2 separate regions of the Homo sapiens genome follow, and region 2 is linked to region 1. Evidence: promoter capture Hi-C in 16 types of primary human blood cells and fetal thymus (Javierre and others, 2016). All regions are on one chromosome and are shown on one strand. The core of a region is centred on a gene start or on the middle of the fragment in contact, and the rest is flanking DNA. Distances in the headings are between cores, read along the strand shown.

Region 1 (4,688 bases), core at 695-3,194:
TAGCCAGGTGTGGTGGTTCACACCTGTATTCCCAGCTACTAGAGAGGCTGAGGTGGGAGGATCACTTGAATCCGGGAGGTTGAGGTTGCAGTGAGCCAAGCAGAGATTACAACACTACACTCCAGCCTGGGCAACAGAGTGAGACTCCATCTCAAAAAGTAAATAAATAAATAAAAATAATAAATAATAAAAAGTAAAATTAAAAGATAAAAAATTCAATAAAATGAAATAAAATAAAGACAGCTTTTATGTACTCCTAAATCAGCGGTGGGAAATAGTTTCTACCTGATGTGCCAACTGTGCTGGATTGCAGTGACAGCTGGCGGTCTGTGTTGAGAAGTATTCTGAGGCTGTGTCAGGGTCAGCAGGAGAGTATCAGATCTGCCCTGGGCTTGGGGCTGGGCATGGTGTATATGGACGGTGTGTTTATTTTCTCTGCTAAGCGTTTATGCTTAGATTCTGCCATCATGCTTTAGGTGACTTATTCCCTCATTCTCTGGTCTCTTTTTCTGGCCACACTTCAGCTTATCAACATTTAAAAAGCCATCTGGCTGCCATCTCTTCTCCCTAATTCATTTCTAGGGTGGATTTGACCAATCTGGCTGGCCCAGCTGTGGTCTCTCCTAGAGCATTGTTTCCTGCAATATCTTCCCAAATAGAGGAGGACCATTTTTGGATCTGCAGTCTGCTAATAAACCTTCCAAATTATTAACGGGTCTCTTAAAATCTGGAGCCCAAGCTAAGTAAGCACTGTCTTTCAGAAGTACTCTCAATGGTTCGGAGGCTAGCAGGACTAATAATACATCCCTTGATCCTGTTAATGCGGCTTAAAGGTTGTGTTAGCTTTTTCCCTGTGTTTGTAAAGCCGAAGCTGTAGTGTACCCCCTGCTGCGGATGGTGAGGGCAGGAGAGCCAGATGCAGTGGGGGCAAGATCTCCTCCTGTCCCCTCCCTGCCTCTGTGACTCTTGGTGGCTTGGGGGGCCTGGGGCCTGCAGGGGTGACATATGGCCCCACCGAGGTCCAAAGGCCACAGGTCTCATTCTGTCACAATGAAGTTGTCTGCCCTAAAGGTCCCTGGATCACTGTCAGTCTTGACACTGGAGCAACCTGAAAAAAATAAGGACAATGTAGACATTTTCTCATAAACCTAATGGCACACAATTCAAGACCTGCTCTTTATTACACAAATGATGGTCTTCATTTCCTGCGTGTGGTGTGGTGTGGTGTGTGTGTATGTGTGTGTCAGAAATTATCCTTTCTTAAACAATTGAGGTAGTTCTTCTCCCTGCCCCGAATACCCTTTGAAAAGTTGGCCACCCTCTGTAGATCCCCTTCCTTTTGCGGGGAGGAGGGAGTCTTACCAGGCTGTGAAAGCTGGTCTAAAAACCCCAGCCTTGTCCAAGGTGAGGCCCATCAGAATTTGACGTGCCCCCTTGGAGGGTCTTGAAGAAGCAATCTGGCATCTCAATGAGGCCCCTGTGGCACAGGATTGGGCCATTAATAGTTAAAGTAGTTAAATTTCTCACAGCCCAATGTATTGGAAAGGCAGCAATGTTTTCATTTAGACCTTAGGGCTGGGGTATAATTTAAGGAGAGTGGATTTTGATTTAGGAACTCAGTTAACGAGTGCCAGCCTTGTCAATTTTTTTTTATTGTGTCGAAAAGCACATCACATAAAATTTACTATCTTAACCGTTTTAAATGCACAGTTCAATGACGTTAAATACATTGATAATGTTGTGCAACCGTCACCACCATCCATCTCCAGAACACTTTTCATCTTGTAGGACTGGAACTGCACCCAGTGAACAGGAACTCCCTGTTCCTCCCCCATTCCCTGGCAATCACCAGTCTACTTTCTGTTTCCGTGGTTTTGGCTCCTCTAGGCATCTCGTGTGAGCGGACTCATACAATATTTGTCCTCTGTGTCTGCTGTAGTTTAGTTAGCGTAATGCTTCAGGGTTCATCCGTGTTGAGGCGTGTGTCAGAATTCCCTTCCTTTTTAAGGCGGAGTAATATCCCATTGTATGCGTAGAGGCCGCATCACGTTCATCCGCTCCTCTGGGGAGGGACACTTGGGTGGCTTCCGTGGTGTGGCTCATGTGCTGCGGTCTTGTCAGTTTTTAGCCATGGCTCGGGAAAGTGACTTGGCCCCTCAGTACCTCCGTTTCCTCATCCATTACATCGGAGCCTGTCCTCTACGTGGGACTGAAGTAAGAATCGTTGTTTGTGACAGTGCGTAACTGCAACAGTCCATCGAGTTGAAGTTATTTCTGAGAGCACTGGGCTAGCATTTCTTAGGGTATCTGCTCTGTGGCCATTCAGCTTTGCCAGCCTGAAGTGTAGGAGGAAGGTGGGAGACGGTTCAGAGAAACGATACGGAGAGGACCGGGCTGTGGCTGCTCCACAGGGTGTTTTGGGTGGGGCAGTTCTTCACTGTGGGGACTGTCCCTTATATTGCAGATGCTTAGTACCTTGACCCCTGCCCGTTAAATGCTGGTAGTACTCTCCAGTCATTGTGTTGACTTAAAACGTATGCCCATAATTTTGTATTCCCCTTGTGGGGGATGGTCCTGCCTCCAGGTGAGAGGCAGGGCCTGAGTGTTCTAGAAGGGTCTGTGGAAGTAAGAAGATGAAGCACAGAAGAGGGAAAGCATAAGAGAATGACCTGGTGGGCTGATACATCTGCAGTGTGCATACTAACAGTTGGTGCTCAGGCCCTCTGAGTGTGCATTAGTCAGGGGCCTCCAGATAGAACCAGCTGGAGAGTATATATACATATATATATGTATACATGTGTGTATGTGTATGTGTGTATATGCCTATCTATCTGTGTGTCTATCTGTCTGAGGGGAGTTATTAGGGGGATTGGCTCACATCATAATGGAGGTTGGGAAGTCCCATGCTAGGCCATCTACAAGCTGGAGATCCAGGGAATCCAGGAGCGTTGGCCAGTGTAAGTCTGAAAGTCTCAGAACCAGAGAAGCCAATGGTGCAGCTTTCAGTCTAAGGCCAAAGGCCTGAAAACTGAGGGGAGGCCGCTGGTTCAAGTCCTAGAGTCCAAAGGCTGGGGGACCTGAGTTCTGATGTCTAAGGGCAGGAGAAGAAGGATGCCCCAGCTCCAGGAAAGAGAGAGAAGCAGTGTGCCTTTCCTCTGCCTTTGTGTTCTATTCAGGGCCTCAGCTGATTGGCTGGTGCCAACCCACATGAGTGATCTTCCTTACTGGGTCCACTGGTTCACATGCCAGTGCCTTCCAGAAGCACCCTCACAGACAGACCTAGAAATAATGCTTTACCAGAGATCTGGGTGTCCCTGATTCCAGTCAAGTTGATACCTAAAATGAAGCATCAGCATTGAGCAGAGAGGAGCTTGGGTCACAGAAGGACCACAGCTCTGGGAGGGAGGCAGAGGTCTGTGTTCAAATACCAAGCTTCCTCCTAACTAGTGAGGGAGGCTTGAGAAAATCTCCCACCTCTGGGCCCCATCTGTAAAGTGAGGGCTTTGGAAAAGGTGGTCTTTTTCAACTCTGTGGCTCCAGGATTTGAAGGCCGAACAGCGTAGATTTCAGTGAGCCGAAAGTAAGGGCTGCTCGCCTTTGGGATTGGGTGGAAAAAGGTAAAATCTAACAAGGAGGCTGGAGTGGGAAGAGCTGACCTGCTGAAATTGCTTCCTAGACCTTCTCATTCTCTTTCTTTTGATCGTTTGTTGAAATACAGTTCATTTTTGAATATGTAAAATAGACACACAGTATCATATTCAAAACATAAAAGATATTATAAGTAGAGTAAAAAGTAAATTTCCCCCTCCACCACTTAGCTCTCCTTCCTCAAAGGCCACCTCACTTTATCCTCCCAGGAATACTGGACTCTCATTTTCTTTGAACCAGGACTCAGAAGATTGTTTCAAATGCAGCTTGCTTGTTGTGCCTTTGACTTTCTGGTCTGAAGGGTGAGAAATTTGATCCATCCTCCTGTAGCGTGTGGTTAGTTTCCTACAATGAATTTTCCTTATTAGTCATAGTTTCTTTTTGCAACTCTTGGATAGAGATACTGCCTTTTTCATCACTCTTTTTATTTCTCTTACCCCCAAATTCCTGGTCCTTCATCTGAATCAAAGGATGCCATAAGCACAGATCAAAACCGAGATAGGACATCTGGATGCCTTCCAGCTTCTCCATCCATGGATTTCAGAGGGGCTCATTTTACATAATTGTCTATTTCAGTGATTTCTAAAATGGTTTCATAGCTTCCTATTTTCTTTTGTCTTGGAGTTTAACTTAGTCCTGCAAGTAACTGCTTTGCTGTTTATCTGGTGTTTAAAAGTTTTTGTTCAGTGACTGGGAAGCACTGTTGGATGTTAACAGTAAACCGAGGGAGGAACCCTGGACTCGGAGGCAGAAAGCCTGGGTTTGTGCAAAGCAGGCTTCTTTATTACTGTGTGACCTTCGGCAAGCTCCTTGGGCTTTCTGAATCACTGCTTCCTCATCTGTAAATAAGGGTTATGCTACCTGCCCCATATGACTGTTTCTATTGTTAAATAAGGCAATGAATATGAGTATTCTTTGCAAACTGTTAAGGGTCTTGCAATTATAATTATTGTAATTCCTTCAGAAAATATTTATTAAGCTTCTGTTGTGTTCTGGTTACCAGTGATCGTGTGGGAAATGAGCTTATATTCTTGTGTGTG
Region 2 (4,688 bases), core at 821-3,320, 240 kb after region 1:
TCCGCCTAACTCCAAACCCATGCTCTTTATAAGTTTGTCATACTGCCTCTGATTTGAGCATTGTACTCATTACAGCAGGATTAGGGGCAGGATTTCATGATGAAGGTAGCTTGCTGCTTGCTGCAGTCAAGAAATACTCCAGGGCCTTTATATCCCACCAAGACTTTGTATCAGGGAAGAATACAAGTTGCCCAAAGGAGATTGTGGGGCTGCCCATGAAAAATAATAAATGGTGATGATTTTCAGTCTCTCTTTCTGATTAAACCTCTGCTGGATCTTCATGGAAGGGCCTCCTTGCAGCCTCAGTGACTCATTCCCACCAAAAATGCTCATCACTCAATGATGGTCTCTTGCGAATTCCAGACTCCTCTGCTATGAAAATGTCTTAGTCTATTTTCTGTTGCTGTAACAGAATAGAACAGACTGGGTAATTCATAAAGAAAAACAGCTTATTTGGCTCATGGTTCTGGAGGCTGGAAAGTCCAAGAACATGACACTAGCATCTGGCTAGGGCCATCTCATGGTGGAAGGCAGAAGGGCAAAAGAGACAGTGTGAGGGGCAGACTCTTTTATAACCTTCTGTCATGATAACAATCCCATGCCCATGGCAATGACATTAATTGATTCATGAGGGTGGAGCCCTCATGAACCAGTCACCTCTTATTAGGTGCCCTCTCCCAAGATTATTGCATTGGGTATTAAGTTTCCAACACATAAATTTGGGGGACACATTCAAACTACTAACCTTCTAAGAGGCTAAACTTTGTATGTGTTCCATAATCTGTTTACTTGCTCATAGCAACAGTACACATTTGAAAGCTTCAAATCAGGAGCCTCTCATTCATTCAACAAGCGTGTATGAAGCACCTTAGCACCTTTTTATGCAACTTGCCTCAAGTTAGCTGCTGGGGACACAGAATGATGAGCCCCAGTTCCTTTCCTCAAGTTGCATACAGTCTAATTGCACAAAATGATCACTCTAGAATTCTAAGATCGACTTTTACTCAATGATAAATAGAACAGTGTCTCTAACCCACAGAGGCACAAAGGGCAGATTTTAGCAACTTGACTATTTTGTCAGCCACAAAGCATAGACCATTGCTGGATTGTCCATTGCACATCTGTTTAGGAATTTTTTGTTTGCAAACGACAAACTATTCAACCCAAACAGCCCTAAGCAAAAGAGAATTTATTGGCTCACATGGGTGGAAACTCCAGTCTAGAAATGGCTTCAAACCCAGGATGATGTGACGATGTGAGTGTTGTCTCCGGGGTGCAGTTCTCTTCTTTCAGGTTGGCTCTGCTCAGCTCTCTGGGTTGACTTTATGCTCAGACAGCTTGTCTGATATTTTGTGGTTGCCCAGTGGCTGCTGAAGCTTCCACTACCTGCACCTCCTCAGCTTCAGTAGTCTTGGGTCTGATTCTCACTGACCAGAATTAAGCCACAGGTTTATCCCAAAAGCAGACCAAGGGGATGGAATAGAAAAATGGCCTTAAGCAACCTGTATTTTGAAGGGTGGTGTCAACCCCACCAAGACTTTGCATCAGGGAAGAATACAAGTTGCCCAAAGGAGATTTTGGGGCTGCCCATGAAAAATAATAAATGGTGATGGTTTTCAGTCTCTCAGTTTTAGGGTAGTTAGCTATGCAGCAATAGCTAACTGATACACTAGAAAAATGCTCACGCAAATATGTAGAATTTTGTCCTTGTCCATGGACTGTACATTGACTTCACAATAATAAAGTTAACATCCATCAAGTGCATTCTGTATGTTGACACATTACCAAGCACTTCACATGCCTTGCCTCATTGAATTCTTACAAACAACTTGTGGGAGTAGATTCTGCTAGCACCCCCAGTTAATAAATGAGAAGACTGATCCTCAGGGAGTTCAAAATGCAGGGACTTAAAGCACTTTCAGGCCAGCAAGAATTCCATGGCCCCCAAATGCCTAGCTGCAGGGAGGTCTGCTTGCCTTGACAACCACCTTAGGAGTAAGGTCTATCTCAGCTTCTCTCAGGAACCTATGATAGCTCTGTTACTCATCCATTTCTTTTAAGCCCTAACATTGAGAATACTTACTATCGATTCCTTGCATTAGTGCCACATGTGTCTTTACTGTTGTTGAGAACATTTTCTATTTTCCCCTTTTTCTACTCCAACTCTCCCAAGAACATATAAATTATATTAGATGGGATGTTCATTTTACAGATGGGGAAACTGAGGAACAGAGAAGATCCAGGGCTTGTCCCAAGTCCCAGGATCACATTGAGGGAGAGAAAGGGTCTCTGGCTTTCCTGGACCCTGGCCCATGCTCCCTAGACCCCAGCCACTCTCCCTCCACCCACCCCAAGCATCTCCCACTCCCATGCTTCACACTGGCTGGGTGATTTGGACGAGCTTCAGTCATGGGTGTAAGTGCAAAGGCTCTGGATTCAGACAGATCTGAGTGTGGATCCCAGCACCGGCTTGTATCAGCTGGTTGACTTTAGCAAGTGACAAAACCTCCTGGAGCCTCCATTTCCTCAGGAACACAGGGCTAAGAAGGCTCTGCTCCACAGGGTTGTTTGCGGTCTGGAGTGGATGATCTACGTAACATCCCTGGACCATCCAGGCAATCAGCAAAGGCTGCTGTGTTCATCCATGGTTGCTTCTGCTCCTTAAAGAGTTTCTGCTTCATCTCCATGCTCTGCAGACAGAAAGAGCAGGTTGTTGGGCATCTGATGAGTGACTGAACCGAAGGAGCTCTAAGGAAAAAGCTTCAGTGGGATTCTGCCATTCATTGGCTACCAGATTTGGGGAATGTCTCTTCCCCTGTCTGGGCCTCAGTATCCTCATCTGTAAAACAAGGGGGTTGGGGAAGCTGACCTTGATTATTTCCTCCAGCTCTGAGGGCTCACTCAGTGCCTTGGCTGAAGGCTGCAGAAGCACACATAGGGGAGGGCCACCAGCCCCACCACATCCCCTCTGCTTTCTAAAGGGAACTCCCTTAACGACCATGTTTGATATTGTGCTACCCTACCCCCTGACTCCATTGGATTGAGCCAAGGATGGCAGCTGATGCAACAGCAGTTGATGGTAGATTGGTTAGTCACCATGGCCCTTGGCAAAGCTGGACCTGCAGATGACCTTTCTTGGGAAGCTTGACCCAGAAGTAACAAAATGACAGGCCCTGTAAGCAGGAGACCAGAAGATGAGAGCCCACAACAACGAGGAGGTCGGAGGCAGAGAGGTGGCCCTTCTGCACCATAGGGAGGCTGACGTCACTAGGGATGAGACTCTGAGAGCACAGTGACAAAACCAATGGGCAAAGCCAATGGCAGAGATCACAGGCTTCGAGAGCAAAGCCATCCAGTCCCTAGAGAGAGCCAGAACCCCCGGTTGAGTACCTGCCCCAGTGCCTATTCCTCACTGGGAGACCTTACATTCAAGCCCTCCTTACCTGGTGTAACTTGAGTGCGATTTCTGCTTCTTGCAATTAAAACAAAAAAGGGGCTCACGCCTGTAATCCCAGCACTTTGGGAGGCTGAGGCAGGGGGATTGTTTGAGGTCAGGAGCTCAAGACCAGCCTGGCCAACATGGAGAAACCCCGTCTCTACAAAAAATAGAAAACTTAGCTAGGTGTGGTGGTGCATGCCTGTAGTCCCAGCTACTTAGGAGACTGAGGCAGGAGAATCACTTGAACCAAGTGGGTGGAGGTTGCAGTGAGCTGAGATTGTGCCACTGCACTCCAGCCTGGGCAACAGGGCGAGACTCTGTCTCAAAAAAAAAAGGAAAAAGTAGACAGAATGATAATAGCCAACCTGTTAGAGCACTTACTGTGTTCTAAGCCCCTTCACATATAAAGGCCAACTCATTAGTCCTCTCAACCACCCTTTAAAGCAGATACTAATGTTACTCCAGCTTAACCTACGAGGAAATAGTACAGACAGGCTAAGTAACTTGCCATGGGACACACTACTTAGGCATCACGGAGTTGGGGTTCAGAACTAGGCAGTCTCACTCTGGAGCTGGGTCTCCATTCTCTCTCTTAGGCCTGAGGATGAGGCAGGACACTGGGTGTGATCTGAAACAGACAGCTTCACCAAACTGGGAGTGTTTGACCCAAGATACCTCACCCAGAGGGAGTTTGCGCCCCCTTGGCATGGGGGGTGCTGTGGTGGGGTGGGTGGTCATCGGCTGCTCACACAGCCCCCAAAGAAGGAGCAAGGATGGATACAGGGTTTCACCAGGCCATCCTGCCCCAGGCTGCAGCCAAGGGTCAGATCCTGCCTCTAACACGAGGGAGCATTTTATGTTGGGAAATTCCCTAGAGAAAGAGCTGTGCGGGGGTTGGGGAAAGGCCTCCTAGGAACAGCCTGCCAGACAATTGCCTCCACACCTAAGCAGGGAAGTCTAGAAAGGACCCCACTGCTGCCTCAGTGCAAGCAGCGAGGCATGGCCTTGGAGTAGCCTGAAGAGGAGCTTTTGCAGTGGAGGGTTGTGGAGAAGGATGGGGGTGAGGCGGGAGTAAGAGACCCCCCCGCCCAGAACCCCCCAACCCCCAACACCTTACATCCTCCTCAACACGCCCCCACTGCTGCCCCTGGAAGCAGCAGAAGTGGCAGTTTTCTTTTGGGCAGTGAGTGGAGGTTTGTGTTTAAATAAAGGGATGCCAAGAAGAGGCAGAGAGAGGACAAGAACTTCC

Evidence for each region. The method cuts DNA at HindIII sites, captures the fragments that hold promoters and counts their contacts. A CHiCAGO score of 5 or more calls a contact.
Region 2: a contact is called between a fragment that was not itself captured here and the fragment with the promoter of SRGAP3-AS3 in region 1, in 1 of 17 cell types (M0 macrophages). The highest score is 5.5, in M0 macrophages.

The regions. Positions count from the first base shown.
Region 1 is chr3:9,214,151-9,218,838 of GRCh38, reverse strand. It overlaps SRGAP3-AS3 (SRGAP3 antisense RNA 3), which reads right to left and starts at 1,944. Exons shown (of 5, transcript NR_103443.1): 1 at 1,850-1,944; 2 at 1,363-1,477; 3 at 286-1,108. All of the region lies in intron 1 of SRGAP3 (SLIT-ROBO Rho GTPase activating protein 3), which reads left to right. The HindIII fragment of the contact is 5,796 bases long and covers 1-3,434 here.
Region 2 is chr3:8,975,270-8,979,957 of GRCh38, reverse strand. No RefSeq gene overlaps it. Among named protein-coding and RNA genes, the nearest start is that of RAD18, 14 kb to the right of the region's middle. The HindIII fragment of the contact is 1,384 bases long and covers 1,379-2,762 here.